Linked DNA regions of Homo sapiens: regions 1, 2, 3, 5 and 6 are each linked to region 4. The links are contacts of gene promoters, found by promoter capture Hi-C in blood cells and fetal thymus (Javierre and others, 2016). All regions are on one chromosome and are shown on one strand. The core of a region is centred on a gene start or on the middle of the fragment in contact, and the rest is flanking DNA. Distances in the headings are between cores, read along the strand shown. Region 1 has its middle 14 kb from the start of SIL1. Region 2 has its middle 31 kb from the start of SIL1. Region 3 overlaps SIL1 (SIL1 nucleotide exchange factor). Region 4 holds the start of CTNNA1 (catenin alpha 1). Region 5 overlaps SIL1 (SIL1 nucleotide exchange factor). Region 6 overlaps SIL1 (SIL1 nucleotide exchange factor).

Region 1 (3,576 bases), core at 861-3,360, 460 kb after region 4:
CAAAAAGAGAATTTATTGACTCATGCACAGTTATCCATGGCTTAATGACTGGGATATGTTCTGAGAAATGTCTTTACGCAATTTTGTCCTTGTGCAAACATCATAAAGTGTATTCACACAAATCTAGATGGTATAGCCCAGGGGTCCTCAACCATGGACTGGTACCAGTCCATGGCCTGTGAGAAACCGGGCCTCACAGCAGGAGGTAAGCAGCAGGTGAGCAAGCAAAGCTTCTTCTGTATTTACAGCCCCTCCCCAATTGCTCACATTACTGCCTGAGCTCCGCCTCTTGTCAGATCAGCTGCAGCATTAGATTCTCACAGGAGCACGAACCATATTGTGAACTGTGCATGTGAGGGATGTAGGTTGTGTGCTCTTTATAAGCATCTGACTAATGCCTGATGATCTGAGGGGGAACGGTTTCACCCTGAAACCATTGCTACCCCCCATACTGCCACCCTACTCCCCACATCCGTGGAAAAATTGTCTTCCATGAAACCATCCATGGAGCCAAAAAGGCTGGGGACCACTGGTATAGCCTACTACACACCTAGGCTATACAGTCTAGTCTATGCTCCTAGGCTACAAATCTGTACAGCGTGTTACTATACTGATTACTGTAGGCAATTGTAACACAATGGTAAGTATTTGCGTATCTAAACATATCTAAACAGAGGACCGGGCTCGGTGGCTCACACCTGTAATCCCAGCACTTTGGGAGACCAAGGCGGGCGGATCACCTGAGGTCAGGAACTCAAGACCAGCCTGGCCAACATGGTGAAACCCTGTCTCTACTAAAAATACAAAATTAGCCAGGTGTGGTGGCGCCTGCCTGTAATCCCAGTTACTCGGAGGCTGAGACAGGAAAATCACCTGAGCCCGGGAGGCGGAGGTTGCAGTGAGCCGAGATTACGCCACTTCACTCCAGTCTGGGTGACAGAGCGAGACTCCATCTCAAAAAAAAAAAACCAAAAATAAAAAAATTAGCCAGGCATGGTGGCACACACCTGTAATTGCAGCTACTCAGGAGGCTGAGGCACAAGAATCGCTTGAACCGGGGAGGGAGATGTTGCAGTGAGCCGAGATTGCGCCACTGCACTCCAGCCTGGGTGGCAGAGTGAGACTGTGTCTCAAAAAAAAAAAAATTAAAATTAAAAATATCTACACATAGAAAAGGTACAGTGAAACTATTGTAGTATAATCTTATGGAATGACCATCGCATATGTGATCCGTTATTGACCAAAACATCATTACATGGTGCATGACTGTAATTGAAAAGTCCACGGGTAACATGTTGACCTTCAAGCAGAGGTGGATTCGGAGCTCCAGCTTAACGTGATATACAGACTTTCAGTTCTAAAACCAGGAAAGTCCCAGGCAAACTGGGACAATTAATTACTGTAGCTCCAATGTGTAAACAGGTCTTGGTGTCTCCATTTCTTGGCTCTGCTTTCAGCTGAGTTGGATAATTCAGTCTCCGGATCTACACATAGCAAGACAGGACAGCAGCTCCAGACCCTATATTCTCTCAAGTTGGAGTCCTGAAAGAAAGGAACTAGTTTGCTTCCCTCATGACTCCAAAGAATTAGAGTGGGTCTTACTGGCTGTCATTAGTCTACTTGAGACATATGTCCACTGTTTTATTTTATCTGGTTTAGTTTTTTAAATTGAGATATAATTCACATTCCATAAAATTCATCTTTTTAAAGTATGCAATTCAGTAGTTTTTAATATATTCACAATGTTGTATGATTATCACCACTATCTAATTCCAAAACATTTCTATCACCCTAAAGAGAAACTCTAGGCCAAGTACAGTGGCTTACACCTGTAATCCCAGCATTTTGGGAGGCCAAGGCAGGCAGACAACTTGAGCCCAGGAGTTTGAGACCAGCCTGAACAACATAAGAAACCCCTTCCCTATAAAAAATACAAAAATTAGCTGGACATGGTGGCGAGTGCCTATGGTCCCAGCTACTCCAGAGGCTGAAGTGGGAGGAGTGCTTGAGCCTGGGAGGCAGAAATGGCAGTTAGCCACTGCACTCCACCCTGGGCGACAGAGCCAAACCCTGTCTCAAAAAAAAAAGAAACCCTATACTCAGTAACAGCCACTACCCATTCCCCCTCCTTCCAGTGCCTGGCTACCACTAATCTTTCTGTCTCCACAGGTTTGCCTATTCTAGATATTTCATATAAATTGAATCAAATAATATATGGCCTTTTGTGTCTGTCCTCTTTCGCTTAGCATAATGTTTATAAGGTTCATCCATGTTGTAACATGAATCAGTACTTTATTCCTTTTTATTGCTGAATAATAGCCCATTGTATGAATATAAAAAAGTTGTACATGAATGTTCATAGCAGCATTCTGATGCCAAGTGGTAGATAGTTGGGTTGCTTCCACTTTTTGACTATTATGAATAATGCTGCTATGAGCATTCATATACACTTGACCCTTGAACAACACAAGTTTGAATTGCAAGGATCCACTTATATGCAGATTTTTTTTACCAAATGCAAATTGAAAATACAGTATTCGCAGGATGTGAAACCTGAGTATATGGAGGGCTGACTTTTTGTATACTCAGGCTCTGCAGAGCCAACTGCAGGACTTGAGTTTGCATGGATTTTGGTGTACTTGGGCGTCTGGAACTAATCCTTTGCATACACTGAGTGTTGATCATACAAGGTTACCTAGAAGTGGAATTGCTGGATTGTACGGTAACTCTGTGTATGTCCCCATTCTTGAACCAATCACTGTGGCCTAAGAATAGAATGGTATGAATGATTTAAACCTAAGTCACAGGTTCTTTTTTGTTTGTTTGTTTGTTTGTTTTTTTGAGCCGGAGTCTCGCTCTGTCGCCCAGGCTGGAGTGCAGTGGCGCGATCTCTGCTCACTGCAAGCTCCGCCTCCCGGGTTCACGCCATTCTCCTGCTTCAGCCTCCCGAGTAGCTGGGACTACAGGCGCCCGCCACCGCGCCCGGCTAATTTTTTGTATTTTTAGTAGAGACGGGGTTTCATCGTGTTAGCCAGAATGGTCTCCATCTCCTGACCTCGTGATCCACCCGCCTCGGCCTCCCAACGTGCTGGAATTACAGGCGTGAGCCACCGCGCCCGGCCTTGTTTGTTTGTTTTTTAAAGACAGGGTCTCACTTTGTTGCTCAGGCTGGAGTGCAGTGGCACAATCTTGGCTCACTGCAACCTCTTCCTCCCAGGTTCAAGTGATTCTCATGCCTCAGCCACCTGAGTAGCTAGGATTACAGGCATGTACCACCACACCCAGCTAATTTTTGTATATTTAGTAGAGACAGGGTTTTGCCATGTTGGCCAGGCTAGTCTCAAACTTCTGGCCTCAAGTGATCCACCTGGCCCAGCTTCCCAAAGTGCTAGAATTACAGGTGTGAGCTACTGCACCCAGCTTACGCCACATGTTCTACTCCTGATGCTGAGGATGGAGTCAGTTTCATTAGGACCACATGGAATGAAAAGAAAATGATGGTTCACCAGGAAGAAATGGGGTACAGTTATCAGATGGAGGATGAATGGAATCTAGGCAGCAAATCTACAGATGGTC
Region 2 (3,516 bases), core at 652-3,151, 480 kb after region 4:
CCACTGCACTCCAGCCTGGACAACAGAGCAAGGCTCCATCTCCAAAAAAAAAAAAAAAAAAAAAAAAACATTTAAAAGAAGATATAGCTGTATAGCAGAAAATTTAAAGTCATAAGAGAACACTGTAAAAAAATATTTTAAAGCAATAAGTTTGAAAATTTTGGTGAAACGGGTAATTTTCCTTAAAATGGAAAAAAAATCCTGTAATGGAGATGTTATTATTTCTTTTCCACAGATAAGAAAACTGAGAAGCAGAGAAATAACTTGGTCAGATTCCCATAGCTAGTAAGAGACAGAGTCTAGATTTGAAGGCCCAAGCAGTGGACTTCTGATTCATCTTCCCTCTTTCCCTCCCACAAACATTTACACTGAGTACCTACTAGACACCAGTCATTGTGCTAGGGATTACAGGGATAAAAGACAAAATTCTTGCCCTCTGGAAGCTCCCAGCCTAGGAGACAAGACTGGGCCAAGACTAGGATAAGTAAAGCACCCAGGGCACAAGATTTAAAGATGTGTTCATTCTCACTTGCAAAACAACTTAAATTTTGTGCCCTTGCCCTGGCTCTCCTAATAAGCATAACCACAACTGCAAAAATACATGCTTTCAACAACTTGAAGCCAGTAAGACTTCTGAGCTCCAGATGTGAGGAAAGGGCATTCTAGGCAGGGAGACTAGTACGAGCAAAGGACAGAGCAGAGAAGCAGCATGATCCCTGATGGGAACTACAAGCAGTTTGGTATTTCTGAGGCACACAAATCAATGCAAGGTGGAGAATGGCAAGAAGAGAGGGTGGAGGAGTGGCCAAGGTCCAGGTCATCACAGGCACTTTATATCATGCTAAGGAGCTTAGACTTTACCCTAAGGGTTTAAGCAAGGGAGTGACACAGGCATAACAGTATTTTACAATAATTCTTCTGGCAGGAATGTAGATGGTGGTGGGGATGGAAACATGGCAGAAAGTGGACAGATGAGTTACATGGCTGCAGAAGCATCCAGGCAAGAGAGGAAGAGAGCCTGCAGCAGGGCAATAGTAGTTGAAATGAAGAAAAGGAAATGGGTTTGAGAAATATTTGAGATGCAAAATTGGCAGGACTTAGTGGTTGATTGGATGTGGGAGGTGAAAGTGTGGAAGGAATTATGAATGAGGCCCCTCATCACCTAGTTTTCACCTGAATAACTAGAGAGTATAGTAGTGGCAGCAACATCCATCCATCTGTTTCTCAATTCATTCATACACCCAATAATGTGTCCATCTGGTTAGTATTAATTCATTCATTTGTCCATTCATACATCCATGTATCCATCTATCAATACAACTATACTTTGATCAAATTCTTATAACATCATGAAGAATGCATATGTAAAAAGGCACAATACTTGGCCTTACTAATTTATTCATTCATTCACTAAGCTTTTATTGATATCCTCCTGTGTGCCAGATACTATTCTAGGTAATGAAGATATAGCAGTGAACAAGCAGAAAAGGTCCTGATTTTAAAGGCCTAATGTTCTAGTGGGAGATACAGATAGAATGCAAAGAAATAACAATTTATTTTTTTTTTAGATACAGAGTTTCACTCTTGTTGCCCAGGCTGAAGTGCAGTGGCACTATCTTGGCTCACTGCAACCTCTGCCTCCTGGGTTCACTGCAACGTCTGCCTCCTGGATTCAAGCGATTCTCCTGCCTCAGCCTCCTGAGTAGCTGGGATTACAGGTGTCTGCCACCACACCCAGCTAATTTTTTGTATTTCTAGTAGAGGTGGGGTTTCACCAGGTTGGCCAGGCTGGTCTCGAACTCCTGACCTCAGGTGATCCACCCGCCTCGGCCTCCCAAAGTGCTGGAATTACAGGCGTGAGCCACTGCACCTGGCCAGAAATAACAATTTTAGATATGAAACATCTTTGTAATAAAATAAACCAGGCTCCTTGGAAATATGGCTGATTTTAGGTTGGGGCAGGAAATATATAATGTGAGCCTGGAGAATCTTGTAGTATCAGAAGGAAAGGAAGGGTTCAGACAAAAACACATGTTGGGAGTGTGTCAAAGAGACATAGGAACCAACTGAAAGAACTACCAGTGACCAAAATTGGAACCATTTGAGCAACAAAACGAAGCATTATTGGATTAAAACCCAAAGTACAAAATAAATATTCATAAGTATATACTGATGTAAATTAATTAACTGAATAAACAAAAGGCAAAGAGAAAAATCTTTCTTGCAGAATTCCAAATAATTTATTTAGACACTTATCCCTCAAGGACGTGGATTACAACTCCCCACTCCTTCAGTGTAGGCTGTGAATAGAAACTTCATTCCAAAGAGTATAGGATGGGAAGAGGGAGATAAAGGACTAAATTTATAGTGTTGAAACCTGGCAAACGTAAGCTTAGGTGATCAAGCTTAAAATCAATAGTAATAAGTCATGTTGCTTGATATGATGTGATGAGAATGTCACTTTATTTCTGTGGTCTTCCTTCCAAAACTCCATAACCCTAATCATGAGAAAAACTTAGATAAATCCCAGTCAAAGCACGTTCTACAAAATATTTGACCAATACTCCTCCCAAGTGTTAAGATCATCAAAAATGGAAAAAGTCTGACTGCCGGGCACAGTGGCTCACACCTGTAATCCCAGCACTTTGGGAGGCCAAGGCGAGTGGATTGCTTGAGACCAGGAGTTCGAGACTAGCCTGGACAACATGGTGAAGTCCTGTCTCTACAAAAAATACAAAAATTCATGGGTATGATCATGCACACCTGTAGTCCCAGCTACTTGAGAGGCTCGAGGTTCAGTGAGCCGTGATTGCACCACTGCACTCCAGCCTGGGTGACAGGGTGAAACCTCATCTCAAAAAAAAAAAAAGAAAAGAAAAAAAAGTGGCTCAGAGCATGTGAGGAACGTGGGGGTCTGCAAAATTTATCAGGCACAGAGAGAGACATGAGCCTGAGACTCAGTTACATCCCCCAACCCATGGCTGGTGGAAATTGTTTAAAGGTATTTTGTTTTTCTTCTTCCCTTTAGCTTCAGGTTAGCTGATAAATTATCTAAAATGTTGCCACAAGTTGCACAATGTGATCCTCACTCATTATTTTCACGTTCCTGGAATTTGTGATACAAAGAACAATTATAGCCAATCGATAGCTTATGTTATTTTAATGAACCAATAAGTTATTGGTAAACAATTTAGGAACTATCCTCTCCCTTCTTTTTTCTTTTTAACCTCTTAAAAACTCTCTTGTAATTGCTGCTAATTAGAGCATATATTCAGGGCAACTGGAACCTATGACTCTGGGCTATGGTTTTCAACCTTGGTCTAAATAAATTATCTATATTAACTTTGCTTCATTTTATTCTTTTAGGTCAACAGTGCCATATTAATGTAAGATGATAATAGAGGGGGAAACTAGGTGTGCAGTGTGTAGGAACTCTATACTGTCTTTCCAACTTTCCTGTAAATCTAAAACTATTCTAAAATTAAAAGTTTGCCGAGGTGCAATAGCTCACACCTG
Region 3 (3,298 bases), core at 164-2,663, 390 kb after region 4:
CATTTAGCATTAGGTATATCTCCTAATGCTATCCCTCCCCCCTCCCCCAACCCCACAACAGTCCCCGGTGTGTGATGTTCCCCTTCCTGTGTCCATGTGTTCTCATTGTTCAATTCCCACCTCTGAATGGGTGCTGGGAAAACTGGCTAGCCATATGTAGAAAGGACAGAAATTTTTAAATGAGCCTACTGGGGCCCTCTTGTGGAAAGACCCACCTCTACCATGTTCTAGTTTCTGCACCACACACAAACACACACCACACACACGCGCACACACACACATACCACACACAGGCACCTTGATTACTAAATGCCCTTGGCACAGACCAGCCAAGGCATAGGCACAGGCATTCAGGAAGAAGAAATCCCTTGACTCAGATTGCAGCCAGGCTTCCTTTGTGACTTGATCCCTTAAACTCCTATCACTCAAGCTTCCTAGCTATACACGAAGCAAAAGCATCCCTGCTCCCCTTCATGGAGCCCAGTGCCAGGCACACACACACATATACACACACACACACACACAAACCACAACCACACACACCACGTATATACACACACCCAACTGTCTGGCAAGAACTTGACACCTCGCCCCTCCATGCAGAAAATACACAAGACAGAAGTATTTCTACATGGCAGACAAAGACGGAGTCTTCTTTGGTGAATGGGGCTTGCCTAAGCATACCAGCAGTTGACCAGATGAATCAGAGGAATACTCAGGTCCTAGTCTGTACTTTCCAGTAGGTCCTAGACTGTAAGCTCCTAGCAAGATACAGACAAGGGGACCTACTCCTTATACCTGATCCTTGACCCTGCCTGAGGTACCGGGAGTGATCAGCCCATGTCTGATAACAACCAAGGTTACAAGAAGCTCCATTCCCTTCCAACCCACTACAGTGTAATAGGAAGAATGCAGGCTCTGGATTTTGAGCCAAGTCTCCCCTACTAGCTGTGTGACTTTGGGCCAGATGCTTAACCTCTACAAGTTTCAACCCCTTCATCTATAAGAGGACTTGATAGTAACTATTTAGTATGACTGTCTATATTAAATGAGATGACATAGAGCATATAGCACAGTGCCTGACACAAAATGAGGGCTCATAAAGCTTATAGCTCTCACTACTATTATTAGAGAAAATTCTGAGCAAAGAATAGGATAAGCAAAAGCAGCGAGGGCTTCACCCCCATACAGAACTGTCTTCTGTTCTGACAACCAAGCCCCTCTTTGGAGACTAGCTTCCCTGAGCCACAAGTCAGCCCACACACCTGGACTATACTCTGGGTGGTTACAGACACATTTCCATTGAAACCTTTAAGCGATGCTGGCTGGCTCTGCATCAGTGCCAGCTGACTGACATCAAACACTTCAGAGTCCCGCTTCCTGATGACTCAGGCCTGTCTCCAAATTCCTGCTGCCACTCTCCTACCTCTAAGGGGGAGTCAGGGAGAGTAGGAACAGCCGGGGCAAATGCAGCTGACCTAGACTGCTGGGACCACTGTAGACAGATGCAGCTAGCATCCAGGGACTAAGGGTCCCAGGGCTTTTCTTCCCTCCCCTTTTAAAATAGTAACTGGATCTCCTGACAGTATGTGCGATGGGCTTTCTCTATAGCCTGCTCCCAAAGAACACCAGGGACTTTCACACCACAGTCATCCAGATACCACGGTCAGGGTTCGAGGGGAGGAGAGATCAGAATTCATCTTTCCTTTCCCCTGATGTCTCTAAGCTTCCAGAAAACATCAGGGCCTCTTAAAGGGGCTAAAATAGGGAAGAAGGTATGATTTCCAGTCCATAGTTCTAAAGGAACTATCTGCTAACTGGTAAGTACAATTTGTTTGCCATTTCTATTGCAAGCATTCAGCACTCACACTCTAAAAGCAAATACCACACAAAGATAATTTCAGCATTAATGTCAGTTCCTTGAGCACACTGGGCACCATACTATGGAACAGAATATACAAAAGATATTGTCACTTGCCTCAGGTGGATGATGTCCTGTTCACATTCAGTGGATAATGTGGCCTTCCACATCTTAGTCTCAGACAGCATAATTATTAAAAAGAAAAGGACAGGCGCAGTGGCTCACACCTGTAATCCTAGCATTTTGGGAGGCTGAGGCAGGTGGATCACATGAGGTCAGGAGTTCAAGACCAGCCTGGCCAACATGGTGAAACCTCATCTCTACTAAAAAATACAAAAACTAGTTGGGGCCGGGCATGGTGGCTTACACCTGTAATCCCAAAACTTTGGGAGGCTGAGGCAGGTGGATCACCCGAGGTCAGGAGTTCAAGACCAGCCTGGCCAACATGGTGAAACCTCATCTCTACTAAAAAATACAAAAATTAGTTGAGGCTGGGTGCAGTGGCTCATGCCTGTAATCCCAGAACTTTGGGAGGCCGAGGCAGGTGGATCACTTGAGGCAGAAGTTCAAGACTAGCCTGGCCAACACGGTGAAACCCCGTCTCTACTAAAAATACAAAAATTAGCCAGGTGTGGTGATGGGTGCCTGTAATCCCAGCTACTCGGGAGCCTGAGGCAAGAGAATTGCTTGAGCCTGGGAGGCGGAGGTTGCAGTGAGCCGAGATCGAGCCACTGCCCTCCAGCCTGGGCGACAGAGCAAGACTCTGTCTCAAAAAAAAAAAAAAGACACTAATTACAACTTTGTAATAATGAGCTAGGCAATAATTAGGGTACTCCTTAAACTAATTGGGGAGCCCCAAGAAAATAGCATTTACTTACAGAAACACTTAGCAACAATACGAGGATGGGTCACCAAGCACAGGACTTGCTACTACCATGTTGGTATCAACTATGTCTTCCAGGTAAGTCAGCAACTGCAACATTTTATTTTTAACATGCCTGAGAGCCCAAGACTATTTATAATACCAGATCCTTAAAAACTTGAAAGGGAGATGAATTTTAAAATGTACACATTTACATATGTGGGCAGAAACACAAAAATCAGATGCCTCTCAACACAGCTCAGGGAGCCATAACTCACGGCTTTCACAATCCCACCGAATGCCCAGAGAAAATCCGGGCACCTTCTACAAGGGATGGTAGGAAGCTGGGTAGGTAGCCAAGAAACAAAGAAACCTAAACTCAGTACTTGGCAGGACAATTAAGGAGCAGAGGATTTTAAATGCATTGTTTCTGACTCTAAATATGGCTACATTTATTACCAATTTGGGATCAGAAACCACATTTAGTTCTGTCATGACCACATGCTAAAAATATTAAGCAGAGTATTGCCTAGGAAACAGCAGTTCTCCCTGCTGCGGCAGCTCCACTTCAGAGC
Region 4 (3,737 bases), core at 277-2,776:
GTTCACTAGGCACTCCCTAGGGGATGGGCAATGTGCTGGGTGCTGCAGGAGATACAGCTCCTGCTTTCCAGAAGTTTATATTCCCTTGGGGGAGAGGGAGATGTGAGGAGTAGAGGGTAAACACGGTAAGGGCAGGTCTCCCTAGCACCCTGCTCTCTATTCAGCACAAGGCCAGCAGTGGACATCGTCGTCTTGCATTATTCAGGTTTATAGGCCAATACTGAAATCTATCTTATTCATCATCCCGTGAGCAGGGGAAACATCATTAGGGTTTTCTATACCAGGATGATAGTGAGCATGTAGTAGTTTTTGTTTTTTTGTGTTGTTTGTTTGCTTTGTAATTTTGTTTTCTTTTGTTTTTGGAGTATTCACTATGAAGATAAGAAAGGGTAAGAATAAAATGCCCCAAATGACCAGAGGAATAGAGATAGAAGTCAGGTCCCTCAAATTTGTTGGAGGAGGGGGACAAGCTGGGAGGGGGGACGTGCTGGGGGCGGGGCGGGAACAAGCCCAAAAAGGGACAGCTGCTGCGGTGCCTCTTTTGTGTTTGTAAATGTCCTCCCCGCAAGGTGGCTCTAGCCTGTAATCCCAGCACTTTGGGAGGCTGAGGAGGATTTCTTGAGCCCATGAGTTTGAGACCAGCCTGGCAACATAGTGAGACTCTGTGTCTGTAGTTCCAGCTACTCCGGAGGCTGAGGTGGGAGGGTCGGTTGTCCAGGGATTTGAGGCTGCAGTGGGCCGTGATCGCGACACTCCACCCCAGCCTGGGCGACAGAGGGAGACCCCGTCTTAAAAAAAAAAAAAAGTCCTTGATCAAGAGGGCTTCGGGTGTTTCCATCTGTGGAGTGAGGGGACGGGTTAGGTGAATTCTAGGGGCGCTTCCACCTCACATTATGAAAGGTCCTGAGAGTCAGATTCTAGTTCCACTGTGTCCCGAAGCTGTGGGGCCTTTCCTTAGCCTCCGCTTCTCCTTCTGTAAAGCCAGGTAGTTGGCCTAGATCACTTTTCCAGAAGACTGTGACTCCGGGACACCTGTGACACTCTTGAGGGGAGCGTGCCCAGTACCCCTGGTCGCGTCTCTGGGATTCCGCCGGGGTGGGGGCCCGCGCGAGGCCGCCCCTGAGCCTCACCTGTGCGCGGAGCGGTGACTCACCTGCCCTCGCGCAGCCCTCTCCGCCCGCGGGCTGTTCCAGGAGTCACCGCTCCTCCTCCCTCTCAGGGGTCACTCCCGGCCTAAGCTCCCACTAGGGGCCGGGGAGGAAGGAATTCTGAGGTGGGCGGCGGGGAGGAAGAGGTCCCTCGGGGGTCCCGGTCCGGCGTTGCCAGACTCTCTTCGCGGTGGGGGCCTTCCCTTTCCCCAAAAGCGGAGGCCGGAACGGCCGGGAGGAGCGGGCGGGGCGGCGGCGGGAGGCGCCGGGAAGAGCGAGTCGGAGGGAGGTGCCAGGAAGGGCGGGCGGGGCCGGGACAGGGGCGGGGGCCGCGGGCGGGGGGCGGGCCGGGGGCGGGGGCGTGGGGCGGCCCATTTCCTCCTCCTAGCCGGACTGGAGGGAGACAAAGCAGCGCCCGTCTGCTTCGGGCCTCTGGAATTTAGCGCTCGCCCAGCTAGCCGCAGGTAACTTCGTACCTCCCTCCTCGCGGGCGCGGTCTCTCGGGCCAGGCCGAGAGGGTCCTTGGGCCGGGCCGTCCCAAGCTGGGCCCCGCGAGCCGCGGGCGGGCGAGCGGGCGGGGCGCGGTTTCTTTGGCGACGTCGCCGGGAATTGGGCCCCGGGCGGGCGTGGGACCCGCGTCGGGCCGGCGGTCCCTTCCCCCGCAGGGCCCGAGTATGGGGCCCGGGCGGGCACGGCCGGCGCTTCCCAGCGCTCGGGAAGTCGGGGGGCCGCCTGGGCTGGGGAGGAGAAACTATAGGCCCAGCGCCGCCGCCGCGTTTCCTCTTGGAAAAGTTTTCTCGCGGTTTCCAAACTTTGTTACCGCGGCCTCGGCGCGCGCGGCAGCCCCGCGCCGGGCCCCTCGGCCGCCTTCCTTCCCTGGGGCGGCTTGTCTGGGAGCCGCTTTCCCGGGAAGTGATTGTCGTCCGGCTCCGAGGCGTTCCTGCCCCCTCCCCCTTCCCGGCCGCTGAGACTTCCCGATGGGGCGGCGGGGACGCGGGCTCGGCGAACCGGGAGGCTGGAGCCCGGGCTTCTCCCATACAGCTTCGCCGTAGGTGGGCCACACCCGTGTGGACTTTTGGCGTGACCGTCCACTTGGACTCGGGGATTACTCAGCTTTCCTGGGTTTCTTGTCGGTTGGACGCACTTAGCTTTCAGCCCTAGTTTTCAGGAGTGGCATTAGAGAGGTTTTTTTTTTTTTTTAATTGTTGTTGACTTTTAAAGGAGCGTGTGTGTGCGTGCGAGTGTGAAGCACTTGTTGGAAAAAATGTTGCCTGAATGAATGCCTGACCTTTGCTTGGCAGCAGTGGCTTCCCAGTAATGCAGGCGGCGGTTGGCCCAGTTCCAAGGTTGACTCCCTCTTACGTCCTCTTGCATCTTGGTGACATTTTTTTGGTGCGTGTGTTTTGTACAGAATTTACAATTATTTGGAAAAGAGCGAGATATGTCAAGTCTACGACTAAATTCGGGGCATTTTATATTTATGATGAAGGAAATGCTTACATCATTGTTGGGACAGGATAGGCATTTTGTGGAGCGAATATTTGTGTTTAGTCAGCAGTGATTTTTAAATACTGGACAGGTGGGTGTTACTTTAAGGAACGGAATTTATAAATCGAATTAATTAGGATGTGTTATTTTGTTTTACAGGAAGAATGAAGAATGAGTGTAGGAGTTACCTATAGTTTCTGCCTAATTATTTACCAATCTGGACTTTTGAACAAACATTTTTTTTAAAGACGGGGTCTCCGTCGCCCGGGCTGGAGCGCAGTGACACGATCATGACTCACTGCGGCTTCTGTCTCCTGGGCTCAAGTGATCCCCCCACCTCGGCTTCCGAAGTAGTTGGGACTACAGGCACGCGCCACCACATCCGTCTAATTTTTGTATTTTTGGTAGAGATGGTGTCTCGCTGTCTTGCCCAAGCTGGTCTCGAACTCCTGGGCTCAAGTGGTCCTCCTGCCTCAGCCTCCCAAAGTGTTGTGATTACAGGCCTGAGCCAGGGTGCCTGACCCCATCTGGATATTTATTCAGCGAAAGAATAATTTTTTAATCCACCTAAGAGCTCACAGTGTAATAGGGGAGACACACACCCCAGGTGTAGTACAGAGCGGACTGCAGTAAGTGCCTTAACAGTACTAATGAAACTATTGTCTGAGTCAAATCTTACCTAATAGTAACAACAAAAGAAACTTGTAGAGGCACGGAGAGGGGGCTAATAAGTTTTACTTGGGTAAGTCCAGAAAGGCTTTCAGGAGGTGGTGGCATTTGATCTGGATGAAACATGAGTCGAGTTTTTTTTAAGTGAAGGGAGAAAGTCATGAGAAGCATAAAAGGGCATAGGAGTTTGGGGAATTGTGATATCACTCTCCTGGTTTTCTTTTCCTTTTGACTCATCTCAGTTTCTTTCTTTTCCTCGCCCTCACTCTTTCCTCTCGTACCCAGGGTTCTTTCCAAAGTATCTTTGTCCTCCACACCACTGATGTGGCATCACCTTCACTCCCATCAGTGATATCTCATTTCATATAGTGACTTAGAGATGAGAGGTACCCTCCTCCAAGATGAGAATCACTGCTCTGTGCAGTCTCTTCT
Region 5 (3,372 bases), core at 301-2,800, 410 kb after region 4:
CAACATGGCAAAACCCCATCTCTACTAAAAACACAAAAATTAGCTGGGCATGGTAGCACGCTCCCGTAGTCCCCACTACTTGGGAGGCTGAGGTGGGAGGATCATCTGAGGCTGGGAAGTGGTCGTTGCAGTGAGCCAAGATCATGCCACTGCACTCCAGCCTGGGCAACAGAGAGAGACTCTGTCTCAAAAAAAAAAAAAAATTAGGATTGCCTAGGCCTTACCAGGTGGGCACACCAGCACTGAGCAGTCCCCCTACAGTCTCTACAGCTCCCAAACATACAGGCCCTACGAAAGGAGAACAGTTACACTGGCCAATATTTGCCATGAAAAACCAGGCCACTACCAGAAAGAGAAGCACTATCCCCTCTGACCTCTCCATGTCTCACCCTGCCACCCACTCACATTCTGTGAATTTGTTTCTATCTGGCCATTGTCAATTCCTGTCTAATGACCTTATCTAAGAACTTAGGGAGTACTACAAAAAATGTCAGTAAAAAATCAGAGTGAGATAAATTTGCTATTCCTGGTGAGCTTTTGTGTTTGTTTTATTCCAAACCAATTCACTAAAGCTTGCTTCCTTATGACAGAAATCCTAAAAATCAATGCTCAAAGCCTAGCAACCACAAACTCCCCCTTCCAGTAACAAAATGCTAGGAAGAAAGAGAGCCACATAAAACGAAGGAAGGGGAAAATGGCCTCTCCACAGACTGTTCCAATTAATGGGAGTGGAGGAGCACAATAGTTAATGAATAAGAAAGAAAATCATCTTGATTACATTTATTTAAGGAACAAAGCAGTAGGAATGTGAATGTGAACACCTGTGTACCCAGGTTCAGCGTAATAAAAGAACACATTCTCATTCACAGCTCATTCATTCAACAAATGTTGTTTGATCATCTACTATATGCCAGGTACCTTTCCTAGGACTGGGAATACAGCTGTGAATGTGACAAACAGATCTCGTCCCTACTCTCATGAAACTTACGTTCTAGTGGAGGGAAAACAGAGTCAACAAGAAGCAGAAAAGCAAGAAAAATATCAAGTGGTTAAGTTATGGTGACTTAAGTAGTCACTTTATACCAGATAAAAGGAAGAGCCTTTCTTGTAAATAACAGCAGAACTGAGCTGAGAATGACAAAGAGCTCATCCAATGAAGACGAGAGAAAAATATTCTAGGCAGAGGGTACAGGTGGAGCAAAGGCCCTCTGTTTAAGAAGCAGAAAGTAAGTTACTGTGTCCAGAACACAGAAGGCAAGCAGAAGGGAGTAGGGGAGGTTAGGAGATAAAGCTGCCAAGGAAGGCAGGCAGGGATCGGAATATGAAAGGCCTTATAACCAGGCTAAGGAGTTTGGAGTTGATTCTAAGTATGATGGTGAGCCCAAAGGGCGTCAGGCAGCAAGGTGACGTGCTCCTTAAGAAATTGAGGGAAACTGATAACTGATTCCAAGATGGAAACTGACTTTTCAGAAAAGTTATCTAACCACAGAAATTTAAAACAGCTTAATTTCCCCAAAAGAAATGCTTCACTGTTTTGTTTTTTTTTCGGTTTTTTCTTTTGTGGAGACAAGGTATCGCTCTGTCACCCAGGCTGGAGTCAAGTGGCACCATCTCGTCTCATTGCAACCTCCACCTCCCAGGTTCAAGCGATTCTCCTGCCTCCGCCTCCTGAGTAGCTGGGATTACAGGTGCCCACCACCACGCCTGGCTATTTTTTGTGTTTTTGGTAGAGATGGGGTTTCACCATATTGGTCATGCTGGTGTTGAACTCCTGGGCTCAAGTGATCCGCCCGTCTCGGCCTCCCAAAGTGCTGGGATTACAGGCATGAGCCAACATGCCCAGCTGCTTCACTATTTTTTAATTTATCAGTTATTAAATATGCACTAAGTGAAGGGCACTGTACTAAATGTATTAAATATTGGGTTGGTGCAAAAGTAATTGTGGTTTTTGCCATTTAAAATTGCAATTATTTCATCCTCATCCAGCACTGTAAGTAGATATTATCATCTCACCTATAATTCCTATAATTCACGCCTATAATTCCAGCACTTTGGGAGGCTGGGCGGGCAGATCACTTGAGGCCAAGAGTTCAAGACTAGCCTGGCCAACAGGGTGAAACCCCGTCTCTACTAAAAATACAAACATTAGCTGGGTATGGTGGCGTAAGCCTGTAATCCCAGCTACTCGGGAGGCTAAGGCACAAGAATAGCTTGAGCCCAGGAGACAGAGGTTGCAGTAAGACAAGATCGTGCCACTGCACTCCAGCCTGGGCAACAACAAGAGAATGTCTCAAAAAAAAAAAAAAAAAGATATTATCATCTCCATTTTACAGATAAAGTAACCAAAGTTCAGACAGGAGGGGAAATGACTTGCCAAAGGCCACGCAACATGTACATGGCACAAAGCCAGGAAGGGACTCCAAGTCTCTCTGACTCAAAAGAGCCAGTGCACCAGCTACTTTCTCTAATGACTCCATCCCTTCCCTCACAAGAGGGAAGAGAAAAAACAGTTCTTTCTGGTTACTACTCAAAGCTTCTGCCCATTGCCTTCTCTCTACTTGAAGGAGCCGCTCACCTTCCCCAGTAAGGGACACAGATTGAGGCCTGACTCCAAATACCTTCTCCAAGAACCTTCCCTAACAAGGCAAACCCAACCCCACTGTCCCCATGTCGTTAGTCAGCCTCTCTCAGCCCCTAGGGTCGGGCCCATGGGTTCTGTCCCTAATGAAACTTGAGCTCTTTAAAGGCATTACAATCTTCACCATTCATTGAGCACCTACCATGTGCCAAGCACATGACCTCCATTATTTCATTTCATCCTAACTGCCCTAGGAGGTGGGTATCAGTACACACTTATTCAGATGAAGAAACTAAGTCACAGAAGTAATAAGAACAAAGTCCAAAAGCTAGTAAGGAAGAGGTGGGAAGATGGTAGAGTAGAAAGCAATGAGGACTAAACTCTGATTTTATCTGGCCCAAATTCCTATCTAAAAGGTCTGGGGAGTCATGTCCTACAAACAGTAAATTCTCATCAGATGGGTTTTATTTAACCATGTATATTGAGACTTACTTTCCAATCTGACTCTGGCATAACAAGGAAGAAAATAAAAATATTTTACCCCAAAACATGTTTCTCTGCCATATCTTGAATGGCCCTGCAAAGTGATCCCTTGTGGGAAAAATCCACATATTCTATAGAGAATCCCCTACCCCCTTGTTTTCCTTTCTTCCTTCCTTCCTTTCCAGATCCAGGAGATAATCAACTAAGAGTCACGCATTCTTTTAGGTCCGATAAGAAACATTTTACAACCTGCTCTCTCTGAAGTGTGCTACCTGAGAGCTTCCTCTGCACAATAAAACTTGGTCTCCACA
Region 6 (3,427 bases), core at 293-2,792, 430 kb after region 4:
AAAACAAACCTCGCCAGGGGACCAGGGCTGGCCTGTTTTGTTTTCTACACTGTAATACACAGTTTTTGTTTTTTTGGTTTTTTTTAAGGCAGAGAAGGGGGTGGAAGGTTATTTGAATTTAAACGAGCAGTAAACACTATAATCTGTGTGCAAGGAGAAAAGGAACATTCAGAAGTGCCAAGTGCAGCCTCTTGGGACATGTGTGGCCAGGGCAGTAGTAGCCCGGGGGGCTTTCTCCTTCAGCCTCAACACGCTGCTCTCATTGCTTGGGAGCAGGCAAGCCAGCAGGCAAGGTCCACGCAGCACAAAAAGGCACTGTTCCCTAGGTCTAAGGAGAAGATTGCCCTCTCAGAAGGAAATTAATATGACGCAACACGGAATGAGCAGGGCGAGTCATCCACAGAAGTCACCTATCTAAGGAGGGGGTTTGAAGAGGTGTTACTCAAGGCATGGACCACATCTGTCTCATTCATCACTGTATTTCCAGGGCTAAGCAGGTCCTGGCACACAATGGGTACTCAGCAAATAATGGTGGACTGAATGGTAACCAGAAAGAACCCTTAGGTTGGAAGCCACTGACAAGAGCTAGAATCTAACTGTTCCTATTGTAACCTGTGGTAACAAAAGAGCCGTGGACGGCAAAGAATATATAAAGGGAGCCAAGAGAATAAAAATGAGTCTATCTCCAGTACCTGGTGCCTTAATAGACTGACAAGTGTATTCTGGTCAGATTACAATATAGCCCTAGAAGGACAAAGTGGGAAGGAGAAAAGGGGAAGAGGGAAGAGTGAGAAACAAGTGAGACAAAACATTTATTGAGTGCTTACCATGTATATATCTGAAAAACCCAGGGGGTTTCACAGCTGAGGACACAGGAGCAGGGGGGTTGAGTAGCTCCTCTGAAGTCTCACAGCTGTTACATGGTTTAAATCTGGGTGTATCTGATGCTATGACCCAAAAGCTTGCCACCATAATTTGCCTTGGTTTCCTCCAGAGGGGAGCTGGCTTCCCAGCTAATCTCTCCTACAGAGGAGAGATGCTCTTACATGTCCACATAAATCAACTTAGTCGTCATGTTTATTGGAGTTAGTTAACTGGAACTGTGACTTGATGGTCTCTTATGAATTTCACATGCCTGAGGCAGGCCCCCAGGAACTGAAACCTGGATGAACTAACTAAGTTTACAGGCCTGCAAAGCTGCACACCAGTAAGGTCCTAAGTCATCAGCTTTCTAGGGCAAACCTCTCTGGCCCGGCACAGGTCAGGTCTGGGTAAGGAAAGAACCTAAGCATGACCTCTACATGCCCCCAAGTTCTCCTCAGAAATTACAAAGAAGCCTTCCCTACTCCATGCTATGTCAGCCATACACAGAATTCTATTTGAAGGCTTTAAATTCTGATTTAAGTAGGACTAACAGAAGTAAAAAGCCAAGGATTTCTGCATGGTCCTTAGAAGCAAATGAGCCTTCCCTCCATGTCCATGGTGCTCCTGCCTCCCCGGAGTTTCCAGAGACCTTCCACACCCATGATGTCAGGTGCAGCAGAGTAGAAAGGGCAAGGTGATTTTCCATATTCTATTCAGAAGAGACCAGAGGTGAGAATCAGCCAGTGCTCCTAATGGAGGTGAATACCCTGGACAAACTCAGAGGCAGCTTAGGTTGTACTAAAAAACATTTTCAAGGTTGTCTGTTTATTGCACCTCCTGTATGAGGGCTTTCATCAGTTAAAATGGGTTTTTTCAAAGCACAGGGAAGCGGATGATTCACCCAGGTGCACAACAGCTGCTGGGAAGACCTGTGGGAAGAGGCCACCCGGCAAAGGCAGGCTGTGTATGGTAAGAAGGGTCTCCAAGGAATGCCCTACATGCCAAGCCACATGCTGTCAGGATATTAATCCAAACCCATCTTGCACACTTTACAATGTTTACTCTCTCTGGGATGTGGAGCATTAAATTATATCCAAGGACTACACAAGTCCTTCCAATTCTATTCCACACTCACTTCTTTGCTAAAAAGATTTGTAACCTGGAAACAAAGCCCTCTGCCTAATAGCAGCAATAACTCTCCGCAAAGAATAGGAAGCCAGACTGTCAGTTCAAACTCTCCTAAAAGGTATTGCCCCATTGAAGCTTTAGTTTAGGTTTCTCCAAAAAGTGGAGAAACCTACTACTGATCCCCTTTTTCCAGAGAGGACAGGCCTGTGTAACTAAGCATCCTGAAAGGAGGGTTCAAACCAAAAGAGGAAAGAGGAATCACCACCACTCCATTCCTGCCCTAACTGCAATGGTCCTGGAAATGGTAAAGAATTCCAAAGAGGACTGCCTCATTGCTACAAGAACTAAGAACAAGGTACATTAATAGGAGACAAAGCTACCTGGATTAGTCACAGCCCTACTCTGGCTAGCAGTATGACCCTAAATGGGTCATTTAGACTCTCCGAGCCTCAATATTTTACCACCATAAAATGGGGGTGTTGTGTGGCCAGGCACAGTGGCTCATTCTTATAATCCCAGCACTTTGGGAGGTCAAGGTGGAAGGATCGCTTGAGGCCAGGAGTTCAAGACCAGCCTCGGAAACATAGCAAAACCCCATCTCTACAAAAAAATTTTAAAAAATTAGCCAGGCATGGTGGCACATGCCTATAGTCCCAGCTCAGGAGGCTGAGGTGGGAGGATATCTTGAGCCCAAGATTTTGAGGTTGCAGTGAGCTACGATCACACCACTGTTACTCCAGCCTGGGTGTGAGTGAGATGTTGTCTCTAAAAAAACTACAACTAAAAAATAAATAAATGGGGATGTCATAAGAATCAGACTGAAAACAGTAAAATTTGAAAACAGTAAAATATTGCACATACTTTACACCTGATTGTTATTCCAAAGACCCCTGCATGAGAAACCCTAGGACATTTCTAGGGAGCAGAGAGGCCAAGCTGTCACATCTGAGAGGCAGTCTACAGCGACTGGGTCCAGTTGTTTACAGAGAAATCCATATGTCAGGAATAAAGTGAGGACAGAGTAAAATTTGAAGAGAAGACCACACATGGGTCTGCTCAGCTACATTTAAAAAATAACAATACAGCAGGTCTCCAAATAACATTGCTTCGATCAACATTATTTCCTTATAACACCGACGAGAAAAAAATAATTGTTTCCCAGCCAGGGCCACTGCTTGTGTGGAGTCTGCTTATTCTCCCCATGTCTGTGTGGGTTTTCTCCAAGTCCTCAGTCACCTTCCACATCCCGAAGACGTGCCTGTTAGGTTCACTGTTGCGTGTAAGGGGTCCAGTCTGCATGAGTGTCAGGGTGTGTGAGTGTACCTTGAAATGGGATGGCATCCTGTCCAAGGCTGGTTCCTGCCTGGTGCCCTGAGCTGCCGGGATGGGCTCTGGCCACCCAAGACCCTGAACTAATAGGGTAGTAATTATCTCA

Evidence for each region. Contacts are between HindIII fragments. The CHiCAGO score rates a contact against its expected background, and 5 or more counts as called.
Region 1: a contact is called between a fragment that was not itself captured here and the fragment with the promoter of CTNNA1 in region 4, in 1 of 17 cell types (endothelial precursors). The highest score is 8.1, in endothelial precursors.
Region 2: a fragment that was not itself captured here is called in contact with the fragment with the promoter of CTNNA1 in region 4 in 2 of 17 cell types (endothelial precursors and M1 macrophages); the score reaches 9.7 in endothelial precursors.
Region 3: a fragment that was not itself captured here is called in contact with the fragment with the promoter of CTNNA1 in region 4 in 1 of 17 cell types (endothelial precursors); the score reaches 8.4 in endothelial precursors.
Region 5: a contact is called between a fragment that was not itself captured here and the fragment with the promoter of CTNNA1 in region 4, in 1 of 17 cell types (M2 macrophages). The highest score is 5.3, in M2 macrophages.
Region 6: a contact is called between a fragment that was not itself captured here and the fragment with the promoter of CTNNA1 in region 4, in 2 of 17 cell types (endothelial precursors and erythroblasts). The highest score is 6.3, in endothelial precursors.

The regions. Positions count from the first base shown.
Region 1 is chr5:139,210,639-139,214,214 of GRCh38, forward strand. No RefSeq gene overlaps it. Among named protein-coding and RNA genes, the nearest start is that of SIL1, 14 kb to the left of the region's middle. The HindIII fragment of the contact is 3,764 bases long and covers 229-3,576 here.
Region 2 is chr5:139,227,791-139,231,306 of GRCh38, forward strand. No RefSeq gene overlaps it. Among named protein-coding and RNA genes, the nearest start is that of SIL1, 31 kb to the left of the region's middle. The HindIII fragment of the contact is 976 bases long and covers 1,414-2,389 here.
Region 3 is chr5:139,137,639-139,140,936 of GRCh38, forward strand. The region is part of intron 1 of SIL1 (SIL1 nucleotide exchange factor); the gene reads right to left. Among named protein-coding and RNA genes, the nearest start is that of SIL1, 59 kb to the right of the region's middle. The HindIII fragment of the contact is 621 bases long and covers 1,104-1,724 here.
Region 4 is chr5:138,751,899-138,755,635 of GRCh38, forward strand. CTNNA1 (catenin alpha 1) reads left to right here and starts at 1,527. Exons shown (of 18, transcript NM_001903.5): 1 at 1,527-1,612. CTNNA1-AS1 (CTNNA1 antisense RNA 1) reads right to left here and starts at 2,026. Exons shown (of 2, transcript NR_134244.1): 1 at 1,625-2,026. RefSeq lists a silencer at 1,417-1,856 and enhancers at 1,560-2,127, 2,128-2,694. The HindIII fragment of the contact is 6,352 bases long and covers 1-3,737 here.
Region 5 is chr5:139,161,825-139,165,196 of GRCh38, forward strand. All of the region lies in intron 1 of SIL1 (SIL1 nucleotide exchange factor), which reads right to left. Among named protein-coding and RNA genes, the nearest start is that of SIL1, 35 kb to the right of the region's middle. RefSeq lists a silencer at 2,303-2,503. The HindIII fragment of the contact is 1,961 bases long and covers 571-2,531 here.
Region 6 is chr5:139,181,914-139,185,340 of GRCh38, forward strand. All of the region lies in intron 1 of SIL1 (SIL1 nucleotide exchange factor), which reads right to left. Among named protein-coding and RNA genes, the nearest start is that of SIL1, 15 kb to the right of the region's middle. The HindIII fragment of the contact is 1,166 bases long and covers 960-2,125 here.